5 separate regions of the Homo sapiens genome follow, and regions 1, 2, 3 and 5 are each linked to region 4. Evidence: promoter capture Hi-C in 16 types of primary human blood cells and fetal thymus (Javierre and others, 2016). All regions are on one chromosome and are shown on one strand. Each heading gives the region's core, a stretch centred on a gene start or on the middle of the fragment in contact. The rest is flanking DNA. Distances are from core to core; before and after follow the strand shown.

The links. Contacts are between HindIII fragments. The CHiCAGO score rates a contact against its expected background, and 5 or more counts as called.
Region 1: a contact is called between a fragment that was not itself captured here and the fragment with the promoter of PHACTR4 in region 4, in 1 of 17 cell types (total B cells). The highest score is 6.0, in total B cells.
Region 2: a fragment that was not itself captured here is called in contact with the fragment with the promoter of PHACTR4 in region 4 in 1 of 17 cell types (naive CD8 T cells); the score reaches 6.3 in naive CD8 T cells.
Region 3: a fragment that was not itself captured here is called in contact with the fragment with the promoter of PHACTR4 in region 4 in 5 of 17 cell types (total CD4 T cells, non-activated CD4 T cells, naive B cells and 2 more); the score reaches 7.6 in total CD4 T cells.
Region 5: a contact is called between a fragment that was not itself captured here and the fragment with the promoter of PHACTR4 in region 4, in 4 of 17 cell types (naive CD4 T cells, total B cells, total CD4 T cells and 1 more). The highest score is 6.6, in naive CD4 T cells.

Annotation. Positions count from the first base shown.
Region 1 is chr1:28,930,707-28,936,009 of GRCh38, reverse strand. All of the region lies in intron 1 of EPB41 (erythrocyte membrane protein band 4.1), which reads right to left. The region is part of intron 1 of LOC124903886 (a long non-coding RNA gene); the gene reads left to right. Among named protein-coding and RNA genes, the nearest start is that of EPB41, 19 kb to the right of the region's middle. The HindIII fragment of the contact is 968 bases long and covers 3,103-4,070 here.
Region 2 is chr1:29,166,998-29,172,332 of GRCh38, reverse strand. All of the region lies in intron 1 of SRSF4 (serine and arginine rich splicing factor 4), which reads left to right. It also overlaps a transcript of MECR not described here. Among named protein-coding and RNA genes, the nearest start is that of SRSF4, 12 kb to the left of the region's middle. The HindIII fragment of the contact is 921 bases long and covers 952-1,872 here.
Region 3 is chr1:29,020,706-29,026,180 of GRCh38, reverse strand. The region is part of intron 7 of EPB41 (erythrocyte membrane protein band 4.1); the gene reads right to left. Among named protein-coding and RNA genes, the nearest start is that of TMEM200B, 100 kb to the left of the region's middle. The HindIII fragment of the contact is 1,236 bases long and covers 1,032-2,267 here.
Region 4 is chr1:28,366,705-28,372,228 of GRCh38, reverse strand. PHACTR4 (phosphatase and actin regulator 4) reads right to left here and starts at 2,489. Exons shown (of 14, transcript NM_001048183.3): 1 at 2,404-2,489. RefSeq lists a silencer at 2,116-2,335 and enhancers at 2,417-2,711, 2,362-3,317. The HindIII fragment of the contact is 7,867 bases long and covers 1,073-5,524 here.
Region 5 is chr1:29,047,876-29,053,609 of GRCh38, reverse strand. EPB41 (erythrocyte membrane protein band 4.1) reads right to left here. Exons shown (of 21, transcript NM_001376013.1): 12 at 298-506. Among named protein-coding and RNA genes, the nearest start is that of TMEM200B, 73 kb to the left of the region's middle. The HindIII fragment of the contact is 7,587 bases long and covers 1-5,734 here.

The DNA.
Region 1 (5,303 bases), core at 2,337-4,836, 560 kb before region 4:
GAAGTATACTAGGTGAGGCAAAGGAAGCTAGGCTAAGGATATTTGATCAGATAAGCAATAATAAACTACAGTAACTTTTTTTTTTTTTTTTTGAAACAGAGTCTCGCTCTGTCACCAGGCTGGAGTGCAATGGCACAGTCTCGGCTGACTCCAACCTCTGATTCCCTGGTTCAAGCGATTCTCCTGCCTCAGCCTCCCGAGTAGCTGGGATTACAGGCATGTGCCACCACGCCCAGCTAATTTTTGTATTTTTAGTAGAGACGGGGTTTCTCCATGTTGGCCAGGATGGTCTCGATCTCATGACCGCATGGTCTGCCTGCCTCAGCCTCTCAAAGTGCTGAGATTACAGAAGTGAGCCACCATGCCTGGCCTACAGTAACTCTTAAGGAGAGAGATTACCTACTCGATGGAAGCTCTATTTGAAGAAGATGAGTATGGCAAGATAAACTGGAATGAATATGGCAAAAGGAAAAAGACTAGAGGGAAGAAGATCAACTAAGCAGTTATAAGCAGTTAGTGCGTAGATCTTGGGGGGGGGGGGGTGTGTGTGTGTGTGTGTGTGTGTGTGTGTTTTGAGACAGGATGTTGCTCTGTCTCCCAGGCTGGAGTGCAAATGGCGTGATCTTGGCTCTCTGCAACCTCTGCCTCTCAGGCTCAAGCAATTCTTGTGCCTCAGACTCCCGAGTAGCTGGCTACAGGCATGCGCACCACAGCACCGGGCTAACTTTTTTTGTATTTTTGTGTAGAAACAGCGTTTCGCCATGTTGGTCATGCTGGTCTCGAATTCCTGAGCTCAGGTGATCAGCCTGCCTCATCCTCCCAAAGTGCTTGGATTACAGGTGCAAGCCACTTCACCTGGCCAGATCTTGATTTATTTATTTATGCTTTTTCTTTTTTTGATACAGGGTCTCACTTTGTCAACCAGGATAGAGTACAGTGGCATGAACATGGCTCACAGCTGCCTCAACCTCTCAAGCTCCAGCGATCCTCCCTCAGCCTCCTGAGTAGCTGGGACCACAAGGATGCGCCACCACCCCTGGCTAGTTCTGTTCATTTTTTGTAGGGACAAGGCCTCACTATGTTGTCCATGACTCAAGCAATCCTTCTGCCTCAGCCTTCCAAAGTGCTGGGAGTACAGGCGTTTGAGTCACCGTGCCTGGCCAGATCTTGGTTTCTAATGCCATTATCCAATAAAAGGAATGGGGACTCCTTGGAGAAATGACTGATTCTAGGAGCCGGGCAGGAAATATGCAAGATGAGCCTGGAGCATTTTGTAGTACCACAAAGTAGGAAAGTATTAAAATACACACACACACACACACACACACACACACACACACACAATGTCAAAAGAACCAGAGGCCAACCAAAAGAGCACCTGATGGCCAAAGCTGGAACAATTTGAGCAACAAAATAAATGAAGTAATACTGGATTAAAACCCAAAGTGTAAAATAAATATCCATATCAGTATGACTCCACACTGATATAAATGATTGAACAGATGAGGAAAAATAAAGTCTCTGATGCAGAATTACAAATAATTTGTGTAGATATTTTGCCCTCAAGGAGGTAGAGTACAACTCTCCACTCCTTAGGTGTGGGCTATGCATAGTGACTTTCATCTAAAGAGTACAGTATGGAAAAGGGGGGAAAGTATCTTTACAGCAGAGAAACCTGATAAACTACCTTAAGACCAAGGTCAACATCAGTAGTGATAAGTCATATTGATAGGATGTACCCTTGATAGGAAGTAATGAGAATGATACTTTACCTCTCTGGGTCTTCCTCCCAAAAACACATTATCAAGTCTAATAATGACAAAAACATCACACAAATCCCAACTGAGGCAATCTTACAAATATCTGACCAACAACCCTCAAAACTGTCAAGATCATCAAAAACAAAGCAAGTCTGAGAAACAATCACAACCAAGAAAACTGTAAGGAGAAATGAGTACTAGACATAATGTGGTATCCTGGATGGTATTCAGGAACAGGAAAAAGACATTAGGAAAAAAACCTGAGGAAATCTGAATAAAATATGAACTTTAGTTAACAATAATGTATCAATATCAGTTTACTAATGTTAAAAATATACTATACTAATATATTAATAATAGAGGAAACTGCAGTGTGGGGTATATAGGGACTCTGTACTATCTTCACAATAAATCTGTAAATCTAAAACCGTGTGTGTGGTTTTTTTAGACTAGGTCTTGCTTTGCCCAACATGACATACTGAGGACACATCACCTCTGTATTCTTCCCAAAAATCTACTATCTAATCGTGGAAAAAAATCAGACAAACCCCGACTGGCATTTTGTAAAACACCTGGCCGATACTCTATGAACGCATCAATGCTATGAAATGCAAGGAGATACTATCACAGATTGGAGGAGACTAAGGAAGACATAACCACTAAATGCAATGTGATAGCCTAGATTGAATCCTGGTCATCCTAGGTGACAATAAATTATGACTTGTGAAAATCTGAATAGGATGAAAGTTTACCACTACCCTAACCACAATAGAAGAGAGTTCCAAATCCAATCACAGTGCTGCACATCAGTTTTGAAGTCAGCTAAACATTGAGTCTTAGCACCCTCAGTTACTAGCTTCATGACCTTAGATAAGTTACCTCTCCCAGTCTGACTTTATGATTCATAAAAGGAAAATACCACCAGCTAAGGTGTGTTATTGCTGTAAGAATATTAAGCAAAGTGCAGTAAATCTTACTTATTTCTCTCTTCCTATCTTTTCTGCTTTTTGAGCAGAACAAGACAGACTCAAAGACAAATGTTGCCATCTATTTATCATCAAAATATAGTGAACACGGCAAATATGTTTGATCCAAAATGCTTTTCTGTTGCTGCCCTTTATTGATTCAAGCTCAAATGTTAAAGAAAAAAATACATAAAGACAAAACTTTTTCAAAAAATTAAATATACAAACTAAATATACCAAATATATTCAACTCAAATATATTCACAATACTAACAGTATTGGGCTCTCAACATTTAAATTGTCAACTGAGGTATTTAAAAATCTAACAAAATGTCTATACGTGTCTTTGTAAAACAAGAAAATCCTGGAAAAAAGCTTTAGTTCTTCGGTCACTAACTACTCATATTTCTTTGTTCTACTTGTAAACCCTTGACCTCCAGAAAGCTACCCCAAAAATAAAACAACGAATAATATTAATGACAAATATCAAGGCCATACTATCACAGAGCAAGTTTGCTTCTAAGTGATTTGCAGAGCATATGGTCTTTTAATATTCTACTTGATTTTCACTACCAAAAGAAGAGATGAAGAGAATTAGAGTTGACATGGAAGAGAAAATGTACTGAGAGCCTGACAAAACAAGAATATCTAGTCTAAAACTTAACAGAGGAGAAAGATCTTAGACTGAAAATATATAACTAGTTTGGCCTGTTTTTCATCTCCACATTAACAATAACATGAATTATTTGGGAAAAAAAAGATATCTGCTTTTTTTTTTTAAAGGAGGTAGGAGAGAAGCATAAAAAAAAAAAAGGAGAAAAAGCAGCAGCTTTGGCTCCTGGAAGAAAAGATAAAAATATAGAGGCCAGGCATGATGCTCATGCCTGTAATCCCAGCACTTTGGGAGGCCAAGGAGAGTGGATCACCTGAGGTCAAGAGTTCGAGATCAGCCTGGCCAACATGGCGAAACTCCATCTCTACTAAAAATACAAAAATTAGCCAGGTGTGGTGGCACCCACTTGTAATCCCTGCTACTCAGGAGGCTGAGGCAGAAGAATCACTTGAATTCGGGAGGCGGAGGCTGCAGTGAGCTGAGATAGTGCCACTGCACTCCAGCCTGGGCAACAGAGCAAGACTCCATTTCAAAAAAAACAAAAAACAAAACAAAACACTACAAGTTTCTAGTTGAACATTAAATCCAAGAAAATGATTCACATGAAGCAACTTATAATAACCAAACAATTGCAATAAATGCTTAAAATATAGACTAGGCATATTACAACCTCTTGGTTCATCTCTTAAGATTACTTACTATGCAGAAGTAGATTTACTGTTAAAATAAGCTTAAGCTCAGGGCCCTCATTTGTACTGGCCCCTGCCAAGGCCACCAAGCTAAAAGGAAGACTGAATTATCTTTGTGCTGTCTCTATTGAAAATATTACAAAGTCATTGGTCGGGCGCGGTGGCTCACGCCTGTAATCCTAGCACTTTGGGAGGCCGAGGCGAGTGGATCATGAGGTCAGGAGATCGAGACCATCCTGGCTAACACAGTGAAACCCTGTCTCTACCAACAATACAAAAAAAAAAAATCAGCCAGACGTGGTGGCGGGCGCCTGTAATCCCAGCTACTCGGGAGGCTGAGGCAGGAGAACTGCTTGAACCCGGGAGGCGGAGGTTGCAGTAAGCCGAGATCGCACCACTGCACTCCAGCCTGGGCAACAGAGCGAGACTTTGTCTCAAAAAAAAAAAAAAAATTACAAAGTCATAATATAAAACTCTTTAGAGGAGTATGAAGCCAAAAATACAGAAAAAAATGAACTATGACACCATATCAGTTAATTAAAATGTTAAGCTATTTTTCTAAATTTTGTGATATTTGTGCTATTTTTCAGCCTTTTTTTTTTTTTTTTTTAATGACAGAGTCTTACTCTGTTGCCAAGGCTAGAACCACCTTAGCTTCCCAAGCTCAAGTGACCCTCCCACCTCAGCCTCCCGAGTAGCTGGGACCACAGGTACATGCCACCACGTCCCATTAATTTTTAAATTTTTTGTAGAGGTGTGGTATCATATGTTGCCCTGGCTAGTATGAAACTCCTGGGCTCAAGCTATCCTCCTACGTCAGCCTCCCAAAGTGCTGGGATTACAAGCATGAGCCACCATGCTCAGCCTATTTTTCAGCTTTTTAAAATATGTAACTTGTGGTTTTCTCATTCTAGATAGGTATTTGTTTTCATCCCTAGTTTTGTATTCATAATTTTGTATTTTTTCCTAAAAAGTCTCTGTTGATAAGTATTCTGAATACTGATGGAATAATTTAGTCTGCCTCATACTTTCAGTATCATGTATTTAAGATATGTTTAAAAATCTCCCTTCCCATCATGGATCTTGGGTATTATTTATCACAAGGTACAATATACCACAGGATTTTTATTGAGAACTTTTATTTCTTAAAAGCATATTCAGCCAGAGAAAAATTACAGGTAAAAAAGGTGATGAAATGGGCCAGGTGCGGTGGCTCACGCCTGTAATCTCAGCACTTTGGGAGGCTGAGGCGGGCGGATCACCTGAGGTCAGGAGT
Region 2 (5,335 bases), core at 163-2,662, 800 kb before region 4:
ACAGAGTGAGACTCTGTCTCAAAAATAAAAAATAAAAATAAAAGATGCTAATTTACCAAGTGAAAAATAATCAGGAAGTTTTTCTTGAATGAATAATAAATAGAGATAGGACTATGAATTAAGTAGCATTCTGTCATTGTTTTATTAGTAATATAACTATTACAAATGTGATCAAATTTTTTTTTATTAAAAGTCACTTTTTAAAGTCAACTTACCCCCCAAAAAAGTGTATTATTTTTTTCCCCCAATATATGGGGAATTTAATTTTTTTCTGTCATTTTGAAAAATCAATGCCAAGAGATAATACCATATTGAGATTTTTGACCAAATGTTAACAGCGTAAATTGCCCTGGTTCAAGACCTCCACTCCTTGGTTCTTGGTCCCTTCAGTTTGTGGTATGAATAAACATCATTTGTAATTATTTGACTAAGTCATTTAAAATCCCTGTTCTTCAGTTTAATATACTGTTTTGCTCCTCCTTTCTCATTGAGGTACTGTATGAATTTAAGGGCCATACGAAGTATTTGTCCCTTCTTAAAAGATAGGCACAGGATATAGACTCGGTAATAAAATGTGGTTTGGGTTTCTAGTATTTTTTTATGCTTCCAGGTACCCAGAACCGCAAATTTTACTTTGAGCTCCTCAGAAGAAAGGTGCTCCAGGCATCTGAGAGAATACCGTTGGGGTGATACTTACAAATTTGTAAGCTAACACTGAAATCTTAAAACTTCCGAAAATATTAATGCATTTGTATGACTTATTTTTCAACTGAGTATGTCAAAGTACTTTATGAACAAGTGTTGTCCCTAGTTTGTACTGATGGGGAAACTGAGGCATGGGGTGATAAGGTGACTGGCCCAAGGTTACAAAATGAGTTATTGACAACTCCGGAAATAGAAGATTTTTTAAATTCCCATACTAGATACATGTGGGCATTGACATTCAAAGCTTCCCTCATGCTATTTCCTTTAGTCCTGTCCTTTGGGGATTGCCTCTGAGGGTGAGAGGGTAGTTCAGGTTTCCGGGCTTGTTCAGCCTTTAGTCTCTGTAGAGGCTTCCAGCAAGCTGACAAGTTACTGCCAAAAGTGAGACAGATGGTATTTTTTATGATGTTGTCCTTAGTTGGAGACTGCTAGTGATTCTCCTCCTCAGGCTACTCTTTGAAAAGCTGTAAGGTGGTATCAGCTTTATCGTGGTTGGCTGAGGAAGGATTTGTACAAGTAAATGTTCTCTGCCTTATTGTCATTCCTAGGGCCGTCTGGTCTTATAGTACCCTGAAGGTGAGGGATTAGATTATGCTCTGAATTTGTATGCCCATAGTTTGAGGAAATGTTTTACTTGAGTTTTCTGTGTGTTGAGATGAAAGTCTCCCAGGCTAAAGATTTCTGAACTGCACGCAATGTCTGAAGAAGCGCTTGAAAGGCACTTTATTTCTCCCAGGTCCCCAACCATGGGTTTAGGTTTTTATGCCAGAAAGGGGACCTTCATGAACAAAGACCCCCAAGACCTAGAGAGAAGAGGAAGTCTGAAAGAGGGAGGTTTGAATTCAGCCTTCAGGAATGAAGAGGGCAGACAGAGCAGGAGGCTCAGGCAAGGGAGTCAGGAACCACAGACCAGAAACATGGACTTGGAAAGGTTTTCATGTAATTGAAATGAAGCTATTGATCCATCCATTTTAAAAGAATTTGAAAAATTCATTAAAATACTTAATTAGTGGCATCCACTAATTAATAAAAGCATAGGGAGTGGCATCTTTAACCAAAAATGAAAATGAAGAAACAGACTCCAGCCCAGGGACCAGGGGCGATTATGAGGGACATGGTGCCTCATACAGCCAAGATGATCCAAGAGGCATCATCTTTAATGAAGCTTTAACACCTGGCAGCCTGCTCATTGTGTTGTTTAAGAGGTAAGTATGAACTGGTTTTGTTTGTAGCTTTTGTGTGGAATCAGGTAGTGCTGTCTGCAGAGTGTAAACCTTTATTTCTTTAAGTAGGAATAACAGATAAAGTAATTCTATATTAAATCCCAAGAGTTTTATTCTAAATTGGTAATGTGACTTTCATCTCTCGAGTTTTTTCAAATCGTTTTTAATTTGTGGTTGAGTCTTCACGAACTTCTTGTCATCAGGCAATAGTTGATTCCCCTTTTTTGAAAGCTTTCAATTTCATTTATCCTTAGTGTTGAAAAGTGTCAGAAAATTGAAATGGACACAGATGATTGTATCTGCCCTCCCTTTCAGGAAAGCCATGTTGACTTTAAAATATCAAAAAAGAAAGTTCAGTTATGATTGCAGGGGGTAATGATAGTTTGATCCACAAACTATTTGCAGTGTAAAAGTGAAATACCTTAGCTGACTTAGTTCATTTTTGAAAGTTTTGAATAGCTAAAACAAAGTTGGCAAATAGGCTCATAGAGTAGTTACAGAGTAAGACTAAATTCATATTTGATGCAGATTCCTCTCTACCTCCCATTCTGGGAGGATTTAGTTTTACTGTTTGGTGTTTAGGATAATGATTGTTCTGTTTTTCTCACCCTACTATGTGAATATATATTCTGTTAGAGATGGGCTGTTATCTGCAATGTGGACTCAATACCATGGGCTTGAGTTTGGTTAGTTCATCATTAGAGATTTTTTTTCAGCAGTTGGTTTACTTTATGAGAAAGGATCATGAGTTTAATTTTCCCACTGATATATTTGTGTTCTCATTGCTGAGATATAAGTTTCTTAATGATTTGTTACCTTTTTCTATTTTCCTAGACTAGTATTAAAATTTTGATGGCATATGGGTTTGGTTCCACTTGTAGAGAATAAATGTTCACAACTTACTGGTATTAGCACACACACATCACATGCAGAAATGGTGTTTTCTTGCCACTTACTCTTTCTCATAAGATGCTTATATTCCTGTGGGCATTTGTCTTCCACACTACAGCACATAATTTGATGAAACTGATTTTCTGTGCAAGAGCTTGTGTTTCTCCAACTCTGGTTTTATGGACCACTTTTCATTGGTATATAGGAGGCGGTTAAAACGTGGTGGTAGAATGCAGGTTTTAGGTTAGCTGGGTGTGAAGAATCCCAGGTCTTTGGGATAGTCTTGGCAAGTTACTCAACTCCTCTAAGTTAGTTTCTTGATCTGTCAGATGACAGTAAACCTCAGAGTTGTGAAAATTAAATGGATATAATGTGTGTAAAGCACTTAGCATAATGCTTTATACATCGTAAAACTTTCAAAAATAGGAGTAGTAATTATTACAAAGAAATGTGAAGAAGAGTCCTAGTGGGCTGCATGTTAAAAATAGTTTTTAGTTAATGAAAATTAAATCACATCTTAGATGTTTATCATCTGCATGGTACTTTTCTGGTTGCTGCTTTAACCTTTGTATAGTTGAAAGTCTGTAAACTTTCTAGTATTCTTTGATTTCTGGCCCATTTCCCTCCTACCATTCACGCTTATATTTTTTGGTTCAAGTCACCATTCCTTGCAAAACTAATTAAATACATTCCTAAATACATAATATTGCCAATATTCATTCACATCCACCACGTCTAGATCCAAGTCTTCATCTTCTTTATGCTGGTCTAATTTTTGCTGAGCCTTAGAAGCAAAGACAGACTCCGGGGGTTGATATGGGACCTCCAGAATGGGGATTGCACAGAATAATCTTATTTTTCCTCTATTCTTCTAGTCTGTTATGTTCTGAACCCACACATGTTTTCGGAAGGACCAGATGGCTGACACTGGCTAATGGGAACCAAAAGACGAGTGAAAGTAACCTGGTTGTCACATACCCCCAGCTTAGAGGTGCTTCACCCTGCCCCAAGGTCAATTTCTTTTTTCTCTAGAGACTTTACCCCATTATATCAAAAACCTTTACTACAGCCTGACTTTATCTGATGTTAGAGTATCATTAAGTCAAGCAGCAGCATTTATTGAGTGAAAAAAGATTGTACACAGGACTGGAAGAGAAGCATCTGCCTTTAAAATACAGTAGAAGGCCGGGCATGGTGGCTCATGCCTGTAATTCTAGCACTTTGGGAGGCCAAGGCAGGTGGATTGCCTGAGCTCAGGAGTTCGAGACCACCCTGGGCAACATGGTGAAACCCTGTCTCTCCTAAAAAAAAAAAAAAAAAAATTACAAAAAATTTGCCGGGCATGGTGGTGCACACCTGTAGTCCCAGCCACTCTAAAGGCTGAGGTACAAGAATTGCTTGAGCCCAGGGTCAGAGGTTGCAGTGAGTGGAGATCGCGCCGCTGCGCTGCAGCCTGCGCGACAGAGCGAGACTATGTTTTTTTTAAAAAAAAAAAAAAAAAGGAATTAGAACCTTGTGGTTTAGAGCTGGGATTTTTAGAGTCATGGGTCTGGGTTCAAATCTAGCTCCTTCACTCATGAGCTCCTTGAAAATGAGCAAGTTGCTTACTCCAAGCCTCAGTTTCTCATTGTAAAATGAGAAGAATAATAATACATTCTTCACATTTGATATACAAATGGATGAAATATTATGGATAAATTATTTACTGTGCCAGGCACTGTGCTAAATAGCCAACAGATATTAGCCTTCGTTTTTCTTAGTGAAGAGCTCATAATCAAAAGAGAAGGTAAGCACAAAGACAAAAACAAGACTTAAAAAGCTACAGAAACATGACTGGGCACAGTGGCTCACGCCTGTAATCCCAGCACTTTGGGAGGCTGAGGCGGCCATATCACAAGGTCAGGAGTTTGAGACAAGCCTGACCAACATGGTGAAACCCCGTCTCCACTAAAAATATAAAAATTAGCTGGGCGTGGTGGCGTGTGCCTGTAATTCCAGCTATTCAAGAGGCTGAGGCAGGAGAACTGCTTGAACCTGGGAGGTGGAGGCTGCAGTGAGCCAAGATTGTGCCTTTGCACTCCAGCCTGGGCAACAGAGCGAGACTCCATCTCAAAAAAACAAAAACAAAAAGCGTAAAATTGAATAGAAGTGCTAAAGCTAAAGAAAGTCCTAAAATAATTGGAATAGGCAAGTTTCTGAGGCTTCATGAAAGAGGTAATTCTCAAGCATATGGAAGAAGATTGATATAATTCAACTTGTGTAGTCAAGGTGTTCCAGGTTTAGAGAGTGACATAAAGATACTTAGGAGTCGTTATAGACTTCTAAACAAAAAAATGATTTAGTAGCTGACTTTTCCTGACACAATGCAAAAGACAAGTTGACTAAGTAAAAATAGCTCTAGCCTAGAATTACATAAATTAATCCAAATGGTAGAGACAGCCCTGAAGGCCCAGCAAATGAGAAAACTGCAGAACTTGGCAGTAGACCCAGTGGGTAACCAATAAGATATAGTCAGA
Region 3 (5,475 bases), core at 400-2,899, 650 kb before region 4:
AGCCACAAACCCCTACTGTATGTGGATGTCCTCCTCACTCTACTTGAACCCTGAATTCCCCATTCTGGGCTACTCAGCACACGTGGATGTCCTCCTTACCTCACCAGGGTTCTGACTGCTGGTGTGGGACCATCTCTTCACCCTGCTTAGGCTTTGACACTGTGCATCAAGCACCACCCTGTATGGATGCCCTCCACATCCTGTGTAGGCTTTTCCCCCACATGGATGCCCTTCTTGCTCTGCTTGGCTTCTGAAACCCACCACCAGGTGCCCACACATGACTACCATCCTCATCCACTTGAGCTCTGACTCTTCATGCCAGGCTGCCCTCCAACCCACGGACCCACTCCTCACTCTGCTTAGGCCTCAATATCCCAAGCCAGACTGCCCCTCTGCATGGATGACTACCTTGCTCTGCCCCACCTAATGTTGCCAGAAAGCTTTATCTGATTATAAAAATCATACACATTCACTGTATAAAATTTGGAAAATATCATTAAAAGCATAGAAAATATATAATCTCACCACCCACAGACATCTGTGCATGTTAACACAACACATATATTTGAAAGATTAATATCACAAAATAAATTATTTTTTGCCTTAAATTTTAATGATCAAGGTTTTCCCTAAAATTTCCAAGACCTTTGAGCGTCATAACAAACCAGCTGGGAAGAGATTAGATACCTCTAAACCATTAAAAGTACTGTCTTGAATTTTTTCAGTACCACCTAATAATTTACTACTTGTAAGTACTGCAGCTTACAAAAGTACCTGACCAGGAAGCTCCGGCACTGGTTAAAGCTCATTAAAAAGAGAAGTTACAATAAAGTTTCCCTGCATTTATTTCAAGCAAGTGCAATCAGGATAGAGCTATTCGGTGTGTTCCAGTGTTATGTGACTCCCTTTTAATAATGTTTGTTATATCTCCTAATTAAGGATTGTGATTTCAAAGAATTAAGTGGGGGACAATAGACAAGTTTACATACCTTCCTAATACCAATAAATGGAGGGCAATTAATTTTAAAGCTTGATTTGCTAGTGTAAATTTAAAGTGTTAATTATAGCTTTAAAATCCCAGTCTGGGCAAAGGGCCACTACTAAGGATTCCATTTATGCAGGCTGTCTTCTATCTGAGAAGTGCTTGTACTGCACTTTCCAATGCATAGTAAAATGCATATGCCTCAGTGGAAGTTTCTTTGGATTAGTTAAAATGCCATGTTGTTGGACATAATTAAATTGTTCCTTTGGGTTTGTGAGGGTTGCAAATCTTTCCAAAAAGGAGCAAGTAAATTCCAAGATGACAGACTCCTAAATGTTCTGGTCACGGCGATCCATTATTGCTCAATTTCTACCACATCTCTAACAGAATATCAGCTGAACTATATCCATTTGTCCCTTGAGATTGTTTCACCTAATTGGGTTTACATTCTGATAAAGGTTAAAACTAGTTCTCCAAACCAAGACACATACATTCATCACTTGTGAAGTGAGGATAAGAATTTTTTTTTATTTATATTTATTTATATTTTTTATTTATTTATTTTTTGAGACGGAGTCTCGCTCTGTCGCCCAGCTGGGGTGCAGTGGTGCGATCTCGGCTCACTGCAACCTCCGCCCCTCCAGGTTTAAGCAATTCTCTGCCTCAGCCTCCGGAGTAGCTGGGATTACAGGCGCGTGCCACCAAGCCCGGCTAATTTTTTGTATTTTTAGTAGAGACAGGGTTTCACCATCTTGACCAGGCTGGTCTTGAACTCCTGACCTCGTGATCCACCTGCCTCAGCCTCCCAAAGTGCTGGGATTACAGGTGTGAGCCACCACGCTCGGCCTTTAATTTATTTATTTTTAGATGAAGTCTTACTTTGTCACCCAGGCTAGAGTGCAGTGGCATGATCTCGGCTCACTGCAACCTCCGCCTCCTGGGTTCAAGCAATTCTCCTGCCTCAGCCTCCAGAGTAGTTGGGACTACAGGTGCGCGCCACCATGCCCAGCTAATTTTTGTATTTTCAGTAGAGATGGGGTTTCACCATGTTGGCTAGGATGGTCTCAATCTCTTGACCTCGTGATCCACCTGCCTTGGCCTCCCAAAATGCTGGGATTACAGGTGTGAGCCACCGTGCCCAGCCAAGAATTATTATTATCATAGCAGATATTTGAACTCTCACTATATACTGTCATTGTACTAATCACTTTATATAAATTTTCTGATTTAACAATTAGAAAATTCACATTATTGCCCTTATTTTTCAGATGAAAAAACTGAAGCTTAGAGAGCTTAAGTAACTTACCAAGAGGCACACAGTTAACAAGGAATGGAGTCTGAATTTAAAGAAAGGCTAACTCCAGAGCCCAAGATTTTAACTATGGTGCCCTATTGCCCCAACTCAGTGGTTCTCAAACTTTTTTGATCTCAGGACCTCTTTATTCTCTTAACAATTATTGTAAAAATTATTGAGGACCCTAAAGAGCTTTTCTTTCTTTTTTCTTTTTTTTGAGACGGAGTTTTGCTTTTGTTGCCCAGGCTGGAGTACAATGGCATGATCTCGGTTCACTGCAACCTCTGCCTCCCGAGTTCAAGCGATTCTCCTGCCTCAGCCTCCTGAGGAGCTGGGATTACAGGCATGTGCTACCATGCCCGGCTGATTTTGTATTTTTAGTAGAGATGGGGTTTCTCCATGTTGGTCAGGCTGGTCTTGAACTCCCGACCTCAGGTGATCTGGCTGCCTTGGCCCCCCAAAGTGCTGGGATTACAGGCATGAGCCACTGTGCCCGGTCAAGAGCTTTTCTTTATGTGGCTTATAGCTATTTGTATTCACTATATTAAAATTGTTTTAACTAAGGAAAATTTAAAATGTTTATTAAATTTCTAAAAAGTAACAGTAATCCAGCCAAGCACGGTGGCTTACGTCTGTAATCCCAGCACCTTAGCAGGCCAAGGCAGGCAGATCACCTGAGGTCAGGAGTTCAGGACCAGCCTGGCCAACATGGTGAAACCCTGTCTCTGCTAAAAATACAAAAGTTAGCCAAGTGTGGTGGCAGGCACTTGTAATCCTAGCTACTCGGGAGGCTGAGGCACGAGAATCACTTGAACCAAGCAGGCGGAGATTGCAGTGAGCCGAGATCACACTATTGCACTCCAGCCTGGGCGACAAGAGTGAAACTCCATTTCAAAATAAAATAAAATAATGGTAATCCCATTACTTTTTAACATAAATAACATAATTTCTGAAAAATACCAATATTTTCTGAAACAGTGATGAAAAGGTAACTTTGCTTTACATATTTACAAATCTCTTCAATGTCTGGCATAGAAGACAGCTGAATTCTCCCAACTGCTTCTGCATTCAATCTGTTGCAATATATTGATTTGGCAGTATGTGAAGAAATCTGATCTCACACAGACATGTAGTTTGAAAAGGGGTGACTATGAATTTAAAACACTCTTTTTTCTTTTTTTTTGAGATGGAGTCTTGCTCTTGTCGCCCAGGCTGTAGTGCAATGGCACGATCTTGGCTCACTGCAACCACCGCCTCCCAGGTTAAAGTGATTCTCCTGCCTCAGCCTCCCAAGTAGCTGGGATTACAGGTGCCCACCACCATGCCTGGCTAATTTTTGTATTTTTAGTAGAGACAGGGTTTCACCATATTGGCCAGGCTGGTCTCAAACTCCTGACCTTGTGATCCGCCTGCCTCGGCCTCCCAAAGTGCTGGGATTACAGGCATGAGCCACTGCGCCTGGCCTAAAATATTCTTTTCTGGTATTACACTAAAACTTATCAATGGCAGTTTCTTTTTTTTTTTTTTTTTTTATTATATCAATGGCAGTTTCTTAAAGATAATTTTCAATGTGAAATGTAGAAACTTATCAATGAACTTTTTGTACTGTTACATTAAAATCCATTGGTCTATCTTGCATTTTGAATGGATCTTTTACCTGTGCATGATTTTTTTAACATTGTGCATTTCTAATCTGAAAAATACTTGTTCACCAAGTTATGAAAATCTTCCAAACCTTGATATAATATGTGTATAAAAAAACACATTCATTAAAATAACCACTGACCTTAGCAGAAAAGTCTTTAAAAGCTGTCAAGATCATGGGGATATATAAAAGTTTTCCAAAATTCCAATTTTTACCAGAAAGCTTGAATTTTGTCATTAGCAACAAATACTGTCAGTTGCTTTCCTAAAAGTACTAGCTCATTTCATTTTTGAGAAAATGTGTGTCAAATAACCGAGTCCGAATAATCATAGTTTGTCATTTTTTCAAGAAAACATGGTGTTTTATAGAAAAGATGGCCACCGGGCGCGATGGCTCATGCCTGTAATCCCAGCACTTTGGGAGGCCCAGGCGGGCGGATCACGAGGTCAGGAGATTGAGACCATCCTGGCTAACACGGTGAAACCTTGTCTCTACTAAATATACAAAAAATTAGCTAGGCGTGGTGGCTGGCGCTTGTAGTCCCAGATACTCAGGAGGCCGAGGCAGGAGAATGATGTGAACCCGGGAGACGGAGCTTGCAGTGAGCGGAGATCACCCCACTGCACTCCAGCCTGGGCGACAGAACAAGCCTCCGTCTCAAAAAAAAAAAAAGAAAAAAAAAGATGGCCAATTCAGCTCACAACTCAATTGCACAAGTGCTTTTCCTTGAGACAACTGTTGTGCTTCAGTATGCAGCAAAAATGCTTTGTGTGTACTTCCCATCTAATCACACAGAATATTAAATAGAAATGTATTCAAGACTTAATAAAATTAATACTTTTTGCTGCTTCGTTAGGAAAATTCTAAGGTAAGCTGGCTTTCTTGCACTTCCAGCTGCAAGTGCATGCTGGAGAACAATATAGTGACTCTTAGTACAGTTTGCTCCAACTGCCTTGATTTGTGCCCCACCCATTTCAACAGAGTGAAAAAAGCAAATAACATCTTAGCATTATTACAAAAATAATTTTGACTTCATGGACCCCTTGAAAGAATCTTGAAGATCTCCAGGGTCTGTAGACCACCTTTGAGAACCGTTGTCCTAACTCAAAGGGTGGTTATAAAGATTAAACGTGATGTTTTACATAAAGTGCTTATCATAGTATCTTGCACATAATAATAGATGCACAATAACTGGCTACTTATTATGATTATTATGTAACAATTCTATAAAGGAGAATCAAGCATTGGATGAGAGACTATAAGTCCTCTCAAACCTGAGATTCTATTATGATCAGATAACCATTAAAAGACTCATTAGGCCGGGCGCAGAGGTTCATGCCTGTAGTCCTAGCACCTTGGGAGTCTTGAGGCTGGAAGTTTGAGATCAGCCTGGACAACATGGTGAGACTACCATCTCTACAAAAAAATTTAAAAATTAGCTGGGCATGGTAGCACACACCTATAGTCCTAGCTACTCAGAAGGCTGAGATGAGACGATCACTTGAACCTAGGAGATTGAAGCTGCAGCGAGCTATGATCACACCACTACACTAC
Region 4 (5,524 bases), core at 1,240-3,739:
TTCAAAAGGGTTATTTGCAATGACCTTCTTTAGAATTTTTTATTGGCCAGGCACGGTGGCTCACACCTGTAATCCCAGCACTTTGGGAGGCGGAGGCAGGTAAATTACTTTAGGTCAGGAGTTCCAGACCAGCCTGGCCAACACGGTGAAACACCATCTCTACTAAAAAAAAAAAAAAAATTAGCCGGGAGTGGTGGCACATGCCTGTAATTCCAGCTACTCGGGAGGCTGAGGCAGGAGAATCGCTTGAAACCAGGAGGAAGAGGTTGCAGTGAGCCAAGATCACGCCACTGCACAGCCTGAGCAACAGAGCAAGACTCTATCTCAAAAAACAAATACAGTATTCTTTATCTTAAGGTTTAATACCAGCACTTTGGGAGGGAGGATCACTTGAGCCCAGGAGTCCAAGACCAGCCTGGGCAACAGAGTGGGACCCCAATCAATACAAAAATTTTTTTAAAAATTTTTTTAATTAGCTGCGCTGGTGGCCTGTGTCTGTTGTCCCAGCTACTCTGGAGGCAGAGGCTTGAGCCCAGGAGGAGGTCCAGGCTGCAGTGAGCAGTGCTCAACTCACTGCACTCCAGCCTGGGAAACCCAGCGAGACCCTATTTCAAAAAATAAATACATAAAAATTGGCCAGGCACGGTGGCTCACGCTTGTAATCCCAGCACTTTGGGAGACCGAGGCGGGTGGATCACCTGAGGTTAGGAGTTCAAGGCCAGCCTGGCTAACATGGTGAAACCTTGTTTCTACCAAAAATACAAAAACTAGCTGGGCATGGTGGCACACACCTGTAATCCCAGCTACTCAGGAGGCTGAGGCAGGAGAATCGCTTCAACCTGGGAAGTGGAGGTTGCAGTGAGCCAAGATCGTGCCATTGCATTCCAGCCTGGGTAACAAAGTGAGATTGTCTCAAAATAAATAAATAAATATAAATAAATTAAATTAAATAGTCGGGCACAGTGGCTCATGCCTCTAGTCCCAGGCATCTGGGAGCCTCTGGTGGAAGGATGGCTTAAGCCAAGAAGTTCGAGGCTACAGTGAACTAGGAGCTCTCCACTGTACTCAAGCTTCAGCAACCAAGCTAGACTCTTGTCTCTTAAATGAAACAAACAAACAAATTTTACCTTAAGCTGATTCTAGCAATGCAGTCTTCCAACAGGAGGACATACACAGTTACCATTATCTAGCCAAATTTGATCGAATCCACAATCCACGCAGTTCCGCGGTTTCCGGTAAGAATCTACCACACCTCATCCCCTAAACTGGCTTCATTTCTAAACGGGCTTCATTCCTTTTTTTTTTAAGATGGGGTCTTGCTGTGTTGCCCAGGCTGGTCGCGAACTTCTGGCCTCAAGCGATTCTCCTGCCTCAGCCTCCAGAATAGTTGGCATTACAGGCGCGCGCCACCACGCCCGAAATTCATTTCTTTAATTTGGCGAAAAAGTAAGTGACTTCTAGAAGCCACTGGGTTTCTGGTTCCTCTATAAAGCAAATTCTTCCACTGAAGGACTTTTTCCTTCCACTGTTTGTTTTAAAAAGAACAAGAAAAGGAAGAGGTTGGAAGGAGCGAGGAGCTGAGTGTCCGAATGAAGCACTGGAGGGTTTTTTTTTTTTGCAAGCAATCAGTGATGCCCTGTAAGTCACTCTCCTCCGAGATTTGGGAGGTGCGTGAACTGCCATTCTACCATTCACCACTGGTTCTTTGGTCCACCGATCACAGATGTGAGCTGCACAGACATCGCAGCAAATTCGATGCCTTCCCGGTTTCCCGGAGCCGGGGTGTAGAGGGTGGGAGAGAGGGGTCGCTTCTTTTCCTTAATCTCATCTCTCCACCAAGAAAAACGTCGGGAGTTTCGTGCCCTGAAGCCGCCCAGGCTGATGTTTGAAAGTTAAATAATAACCTCCAGGTTTTTACAGAAACTCCGCCTGGCTCCGAAGCCCCCGTTCTGCCCAGCAGGGGTGCAGAGGTCTGAGGCAGGACGGTTTTGAAAAATGTACTTTGACCCGATCCGGTTACTGTAACCGGATCCCCAGGGAGCAGTCCCTGTTGGGGACCGGGGGAACAGGCTCCCCCGTGGCGGAGACTCCATGCACGGACACAAAGGGGGAGCAACGCAGCCCAGACAAAAGGGCCCAGCCAAGTCTCGGGGGGCGGAGAGGGCGAGCCTGCGCGGGCCCTGCCTCAGGCGGAGAAGCCCGGGTTGGACCGTTGTGGGAGGGCCGAGGAGGGAGGCGGCGGCCCCGCCCCGCCCTGGCCCGAAGCGACGGCGACCCGGGCCGTTACCTTCTGCCCGGACCGGGACCCTCTCGCAGAGCCAAGAAAGGGGCCGCAGCCTGAGAGGAGGCCGCAGCCTGATACTGAGCGCGTCCTGCTCACTTTCCCTTGCTCGCTGAACTTACCCAGATCTCCGCCGCCGCCTCCTCAGCCTCCACAGCAGCCTCTCCCGGAAATCCTACCTGGCCCGTTGGCCGCCAGGCAGCAGCCGGAGCCCTTGGCCCCCGGGGAGGGGGAAAAAGGGAGCCGGCTGGACAGTGTAGGGTAGGACGTGCCGCCGCGGAGGCTTACGGGACTTGTAGTCCCCAGCAGGGGCCGGTTGCCCGGCAAGCTGAACAAAATGGCGGGAAGCGTGCGTCCTTTCTCTCCGGGCGGTCGTCCTCCTTACGACCTCTCTGGGCATGCGCTGGCCGCTCTGCGCACCTTGTGTGTAAAAGAACTTGGGCACCTTTCCTGGTACTATGGGAGGCAAAGGTCTTTGGGCTTGGGAGGACAGGGTTCAATACTGGGCTCCAGGCAGTACCCAAAAAGGGAACTGATACAAGAGTGTTGTTTGAGAAAACTGTATCCCTGACTGGCCAAATTTCAATCATAACCTCCCCAAAGGAAAAACTATTTATTGAGGACCAATTTGAAGTGCAAAAAACGTACAAGCAAGTTATCTACCCTCAGTGTTGTGCGTAAGAAACCCAGGAATCATTCTGGACACTTCCCTCAAGCCATTAAGTCCAGTCATTCTACATCCCCAGTATTTTAATTCATTTCGATATCCTTCACTACTATCACCTAGTGAAAGCCACCATCACTTCTCTCCAAGTCTCAGTAGTTTCAGGCCCTAGGCTATCACCCTCCGAAAACCTTCCTTGCTGCTGCCAGAGGACCCTTCTAAATGCAAACCCATTGTATCACACAACCTAAATTAGACCTACATGTAAAACTTGAAGCTACGGCACATCTAGAGGACATTCCAGGAGAAAAATCGATGTGACTTTTCAAATACACTATCCATAAAATTAAAAAAATTGGCCAGGCGCGGTGGCGCATGCCTGTAATCCCAGCTACTCAGGAGGCTGAGGCAGGAGAATCGCTTGAACCCAGGAGGCGGAGGTTGCAGTGAGCCGAGATCTTGCCATTGCAGTCCAGCCTGGGCGACAGAGCAAGACTCCGTCGCAAAACAAACAAACAAACAAACAAACAAATTATCCGGGGCCTAGTGCCAAGCTCCTGTAGTCCCAGCTACGTGGGAGGCTGAGGTGAGATGATCACTTGAGCCTGGGGGGTCGAGATCGCACCAGTGCACTCCAGCCTGGGCAGCAGAGCAAGACCCTGTCTCAATAGAAAAAGAAAAAAGAAGAAAAAAAAATTGGCCGGGTGCAGTGGCTCACACCTCTCATCCCAGCACTTTGGGAGGCTAAGGCGGGAGGATCCCTTGAGCCCTGGAGTTTGAGACCAGCCTGCCAGCCTGGGCAACAGAGTGAGGCCCCATCTCTACAAAAACAATTTTAAAAATTAGCTGGGCATGATGGAACGTGCCTGTAGTCCCAGGTACTCAGGAGGCTGAAATAGGAGGATTATTTGAGCTGGGGAGGTCCAGGCTGCAATGAGCTGTGATGGTGTCGCTACACTCCAGCCTGGACGACAGAGGGAGACCTTGTCTCAAAAAAATATTTAAAATATATTTATTGGCCTGGCACGGTGGCTCACGCCTGTAATCCCAGCACTTTGTGAGGTTGAGGCTGGTAGATCACCTGAGGTCAGGAGTTCGAGACCAGCCTCTCCAAAATGGTGAAACCACATCTCTACTAAAAATACAAAAATTGGCCGGGCACGGTGGCTCACACTTGTAATCCCAGCACTTTGGGAGGCTGAGGCGGGCGGGTCACGAGGTCAGGATATCGAGACCATCCTGGCTAACGCAATGAAACCCTGTCTCTACTAAAAATACAAAAAATTAGCCGGGCGTGGTGGAGGGCGCGTGTAGTCCCAGCAACTCGGGAGGCTGAGGCAGGAGAATGGCGTGAACCCGGGAGGCAGAGCTTGCAGTGATCTGAGATCGCGCCACTGCACTCCAGCCTGGGCAACAGAGCGAGATCCCGTCTTAAAAAAAAAAAATACAAAAATTTATTGGGCGTGATGGCCCACCCCTGTAATCCCAGCTACTCAGGAGGGTGAGGCAGGAGAAGCGCTTGAACCCAGGAGGCGGAGGTTTCAGGGAGCCGAGATCGCACCATTGCACTCCAGCCTGGGTTACAAGAGGGAAACTCAGTCTCAAAAATAAAATTAAAAAATATATTTTTTTAAATTAATAGGCTACACATGATAACTCATGCCTGTAATTCCAGCACTCTGGAAGGCCAAGGCTGGAGGGCTGGTTGAGACCATGGGTTCAAGACCAGCCTGGGCAACACAGTGAGACTCCATCTCTAAAATATAAATAAATAAATTTTAAAAAGAAAAAAATTGCCGGGCGTGGTGGCTCACGCCTGTAATCCTAGCACTTTGGGAGGCCGAGGCAGGTGGATCACAAAGTCAGGAGATTGAGACCATCCTGGCTAACACGGTGAAACCCCATCTCTACTAAAAATACAAAAAATTAGCTGGGCGCGATGGCGGGCTCCTGTAGTCCCAGCTACTCGGGAGGCTGAGGCAGGAGAATGGCGTGAACCCGGGAGGCAGAGCTTGCAAGTGAGCCGAGATCTTGCCACTGCACTCCAGCCTGGGCAACAGAGCGAGACTCCGTCTCAAAAAAAAAAAAAAGAAAAGAAAAGAAAAGAAAAAAATTGAATAAATTGTATATCATCAAAATTTCAAACTTTAGTCAAGACTGTTATGAAAATAAAGATAAAACCGGGCGCGGTGGCTCACGCCTGTAATCCCAGCACTTTGGGAGTCCGAGGTGGGCAGATCACGAAGTCAGGAGATCGAGACCATCCTGGCTAACACAGTGAAACCCCGTCTCTACTAAAAATACAAAAAATTAGCCGGGCGTGGTGGTGGGCGCCTGTGGTCCCAGCTACTCGGGAGGCTGAGGCAGGAGGATGGTGTGAACCTGGGAGGCAGAGCTTGCAGTGAGCGGAGACTGTGCCACTGCACTCCAGCCTGGGCGACAGAGCGAGACTCCGTCTCAAAAAAAAAAAAAAAAAAAAGAAAAGAAAGATAAGCTGGCCAGGCTCAGTGACTCACCCATGTAATCCCCACACTTTCAGAGGCTGAAGCGAGTGGATCACCTGAGGTCAGGAGTTCAGG
Region 5 (5,734 bases), core at 1,905-4,404, 680 kb before region 4:
CCAGCCTGGGTGACAGAGCGAGACTCCATCTCAAAAAAATAAATAAATAAATAAAAATAATAGTTGGGTCAAGGAGTGGGTCACCTTATAACTTCTGAGATAGCTTACAGTCTTACTGACATAACTCTACGAAAATATTTTATAGGTTCATGGGAGACATCTTCATTTAGAAAGAATGAAGAATAACTTTGTTGAGTCTATGAGAATAAGCAATTGCTTTGAAAACGTTCCTGGTCAAAAAGTTAAGGCCTCTAAATCAGAAAGTGAGTTAGCTAGGTATTTGGACTGATGACATACCTTCCATGCTTCTGTGGGCTCTGGCTCAGCTTGCTCAGGTGGCTCGTCTTCCTTTTTCACTTCAGCCTTCACTGTTTCCTTCTGTGCTTTAGGGACCACTGTTTTTTTAGCAGAGGCATCTAGGACGCCACCTTCTGCAACCTGACCCTGAGTAATGGCAGGTGCAGAAGTGGGCCGAGGACTTCGGTCTGCCGAATCGACAGCTGCTGCTATGTGAGAAAGGGAAAAGGGAAGCATAAGTAAAGGCCAGAGCTACTGTATTATTTCAAAGTCACCAGGCAAAATAATTGTGAATCCAGGATACACACGAATGTTAGAGTGTGTAGTGGGCTATCACACAGAGGGTAAAAAATAAATCATTAGTGCTCTGCCAGGGAACTGATAGCAACAAGGAAGTTAAATGTACCCTCAGTAGAAAGGCTAAAATGTGTTAATGATCATGTTCCATGAATGCTGAATTCAGGGGAGACAAGATCAAAGAAAAGAAATAGAAAATCCATTTATCTCGTAATTTTAGTTTCAAAAACCTGCAATGTTGTCTATGGCAGGAAAAAAAGGGTTAACTAAATGTGATTTCTTCCATGAGGCATTTTAAAAATAAAGATGTGTTCATTTTTAGGTTATTTCAGGAACCTAAAAATATATTGTAAGAAAAAAGAATTAAGTCTGATTTCTTCTGTAAGCCTCCTTGGAATGATTACAAAATAACTTGATAAATGGCTCTTCTGGTAAGACATGAACTACTTTCTGATGCTTGTAAGGACAAATATTTGAACCAGATGCTCTCCCTTTTAATAATAAATCATTTGATTAAAATAACACAAATTCAAAATCTTTGACTGTCAGTCCTCAAACCTAAACAAAAATATCTTTTGAGTTCTGTCCTACTATCTCTCAGCCTTACCAATTTGTATTACAGCTCTTATTCTCTAATATGTTTAGGGCAGTGGTTCTCAACTGGAGTAAATTGTCCCCAGAGAATATCTGGCAATGTCCGGAGACATTTTTGGTTGTTGTAACAGAGGAGGGGAGAGACGGGAGGTACTGGCATCCAGTGCATAGAGGCTGAAGTTACTGAGGTTGAGAAACCTTAATTTAGGGGAAAAGTTGTATAGACTGTTTTAGAGAGAATAAACTATACAGACTTATGATAAAATCTTGATCTTTTCAAAGAGCCAATTGTTGTTTTGGAATATTTGGTATCTAAGTTTTAGACAGCTTACTTCAAAACAATCACTCATACTCTTTTTATGGTTTTTATGTTCATTCTTTCAGGGATATAAAACATTTACACTTTGTAATAAAACTTCACTTATCTGACAGTATCTAGGAATGAAAGTGTTTTTGTGCATGATTTAGTATTTCTGATAACATATTGTTATCCTCTTTTGTACTGAGACTTTTTTTTTTTTTTTAAGATGGAGTCTTGCCCTGTCGCCTAGGCTAGAGTGCAATGGCATGATCTCGGCTCACTAGAATCTCCGCCTCTCAGGTTCAAGTGATTCTCCTGCCTCAGCCTCCCCAGTAGCTGGGACTACAGGCACATGCCACCATGCCTGGCTAATTTTTTGTATCTTTAGTAGAGATGGGGTTTCACCATGTTGGCCAGGCTGGTCTTGAACTCCTGACCTCAAGTGATCTGCCTGCCTTGGCCTCCCAAAGTCCTGGGATTACAGGCGTGAGCCACCGCTCCCAGCCAAGACTCTTATATTTTAATCAATTTGCATGGAAATCAATAATTTTTATTATAGACTTTCCTGCATTCTTAAACTGACTATAACTGAACATGATTCATCCTGAAATTTTTAGATTTGTAAACTGTAAGGATCAGATAAAGGAATTCCATGAATCTGAACAGATAAAAACTTTAAATTCCCAACTACTTCATACAACAATATTAAGAAAGAAATGCTTGGCCAGGCACGGTGGCTCACACCTGTAATCCCAGCACTTTGGGAGGCCGAGGTGGGCAGATCACCTGAGGTCGGGAGTTCGAGACCAGCCTGGTCAACAAGGTGAAACGTCGTCTCTACTAAAAATACAAAAATTAGCCAAGTGTGGTGGTGGGCGCCTGTAGTCATAGCTACTCGGGAGGCTGAGGCAGGAGAATCACTTGAACCCGAGAGGCAGAGGTTGCAGTGAGCTGAGATCGTGCCACTGCACTCCAGCCTGGGCAACAGAGCCAGACTGTCTCCAAAAAAAAAAAAAAAAAAAAAAAAAAAAACAGAAAAAGAAAAAGAAAGAAATGCTCATTACTCTGTCATAATTTCCAATGAAAGAACTAATTCCTTAGCGGATATATAGGAAAAACAGCAGAAATTCAAGAATCCCCTTTATCAGCCAGGCGTGGTGGCTCACGCCTATAATCCCAGCACTTTGGGAGGCCAAGGTGGGTGGATCACGAGGTCAGGAGATTGAGGCCATCCTGGCTAACACAGTGAAACCCATCTCTACTAAAAAATACAAAAAATTAGCTGGGCGTGGTGGCGGGCGTCTGTAGTCCCAGTTACTTGGGAGGCTGAGGCAGGTGAATGGCCTGAACCCAGGAGGTGGAGCTTGCAGTGAGCCGAGATCGTACCACTGCACTCTAGCCTGGGCAACAGAGCAAGACTCTGTCTCAAAAAAAAAAAGGATCTCCTTTATCTTTCCATGAAAAATCTGCGGCCTCTTGCACAGATTGCTACTACTGGGTTAGTAGTAATAACTCTGGATTAGCACAGAGCTACTACTAATGGGTGCTTTAAGCAGTCACTGCAAGAGTGGCAGATGGCAGACCAAACCTGACAACACAGGGGAATGTGACAAAATATTTTGCTCACAGTTGTGTTTAAGTATCATTATACATGTGTATTCACACCTCCTCTCAAAGAATTAATTCAACTATGCCTGGCATCATAGAAACTTAGCCCATGCTTTCACCATGTGTTATTTTGCCACTTGTCTTTGGTTTCAATCCAGTACTAATACTGCAGAGCCAAATGATTTATGTCTTCAGCATTCCTAGCCTTGGCAATCTGTACTGTATGTGGAAAAGAAGGTATTAGTGTGGAAACTGACAGAAACAGAGTTCACAGATTGGAAAAATAATAACATTACAATAAAAAGCTCTGGCTGTGAAAGGCTGCGTGGAACAGAGGCAAAAGCCAAATCACGAGTCTTAGGCCCACACTCAGTCACATATAGTAGTGTGCCTAAGGCGTGGAGCTTAATCTTACAAACTTTAGTTTAATCATCTGTAAAATATGGAAGATATTAACTCTATAATATCATGGTAGTGATCATGGCTTTTTTTAACAGCTTTTTTTGAGATACAATTCACATACCACACAGTTCACTCATTTAAAATATATAATTCAATGCTTTTTAGTATATTCACAGTGTTGGGGGTAAGGATTGCTTTTTAAGATGTGTGGGTCTTCAGTTTTATTAATTCAGCTGTTAATATTTACAAGATTTTGGTGCATATATAGACAATACATAACTTTAAAAATCCAGTATCTCCCATATCTGAGGGTCTACATAAAGAAAAATGCTGATGGTGACCCACTAACTTCAATACTATATTGCTCTTGGCTGACAACAGAAACTTAGATAGTTATATACTACAGCAGTAAAGAATAAAATTCAAACCATCAGACTGAGTAAAGGCAAACAACTTCTACTTCTAGCTGTTATTTACTAGCACAATTTCTGCTAGTATGCGGTAGGGTGGTTCTTTTATCAGAGGACCACATAAATCATTTGTGTCCTCTGATACAATGTTTGTTTTTCAAGACAAAAAACAAAAAAATCAGATGATGCTCAGGCCCACTCTAGTGAGATGAGCTATCCAAGAGTGAGGCTTGGGCATGTGTTTTGTTTTAAAGCTCCAAAGGTGATAAGGATGTACACCCCTGGCAAGAATCACTGTAACCACTGCTCACTGAATGGATGAACTACCTGGTTGTGTGGCCCTTTCTTTTGTGCTCCAGTTTCCTCATGAGTAAAACTGTAATTCCTAAATGTTTTCTCTTATTGACTAAGTTGCTAGTATTAAATAGGAATACATGGAAATGGTTTGAAAAGCAAAAAGTGCAAGAAAAATATAATCTTTGTCATCATTATTAGCTACGCTTGCAACTTACTACTCTATCATAAAACTGGGATCTGAACCAGTTTTGGTACTCCAGCTGGTGAAGCAGATGCTCTAAGCACCACACATAACAGAAGAGGAAGGGAATGCTCATTTTTATCATTAAAATAAGACCCCTTATAAAGCAATTCTTGTAAAAGTTTCCCTGATACACCATCTCTAGCTTACAGAGTTATATTAATCTTTTGAAAAGGGAGGGGTGACTCAACGGGAAAAAGTATCTTTTAAGGAGCACAGAGAAGTATCTAAGGAAAGGAGGGAAAAATAGTTACACAGACATATTTCCACTTTTTATACTATAGTACAAAGAGAAAAATAAGACATTTAAAAACAGAACTACAAAAAAAAATTGTCCTATTCAGTTTATATGCACTTCAGATACTTAAAAGATAGAACAGTGCCTGGAACATACTAAGTGCTCAAGGAATATTGACTATTAACTTTTATTCTACTCTTTCTAAAAAAAAGAAGTCATCATGGTGAAGAGTAAAAAGCATGGGCCTAGGAGAATTGTCCCGGATTCCCTTCTAATTCTTTCCAACTAGCTATGTAACCTTAGGCAAGTCACTTACATTCTAAGGTTAAGTTGTAAGAAATAATGAACATTAATGAGTATCTAGTTCAAGAATTTTTTTTAAAAAAGCTCAATAAAAGCGTAAAGAAAATAATAGGCCGGGCGCGGTGGCTCACGCCTGTAATCCCAGCACTTTGGGAGGCTGAGGTGGGTGGATCACCTGAGGTCAGGAGTTCGAGACCAGCCTCAACATGGAGAAACCCCGTCTCTACTAAAAATACAAAATTAGCCGGGCGTGGTGGTGCATGCCTGTAATCCCAGCTACTCGGGAGGCTGAGGCAGGAGAATTGTTTGAACCTGGGAGGCAGAGGTTGCGGTGAGCCGAGATCACGCCATTGCACTCCAGCCTAGGCAACGAGAGCAAAACTCCGTCTCAAAAAAAGAAAATAATAAAGATATCAGCTGGCATGAGTTAAACTATATATAATAGGAAAAAAACAACAAAACCAAAAGTTGGTTCTTTGAAAAACTTAAGACAATTACTTTGTACCCCATAAATATATACAATTATAAATTGTCAGCCAGGCTCGGTGGCTCACTCACGCCCGTAATCCCAGAACTTTGGGAGGCCGAAGCAGGTAGATTACTTGAGGTCAGGAGGTAGAGACCAGCCTGACCAACATGGTGAAACCTCGTCTCTACTAAAAATACAAAAATTAGCCGGGCATGGTGGCGCATGCCTGTAATCCCAGCTACTTGGGAGGCTGAGGCGGGAGAATCGCTTGAACTTG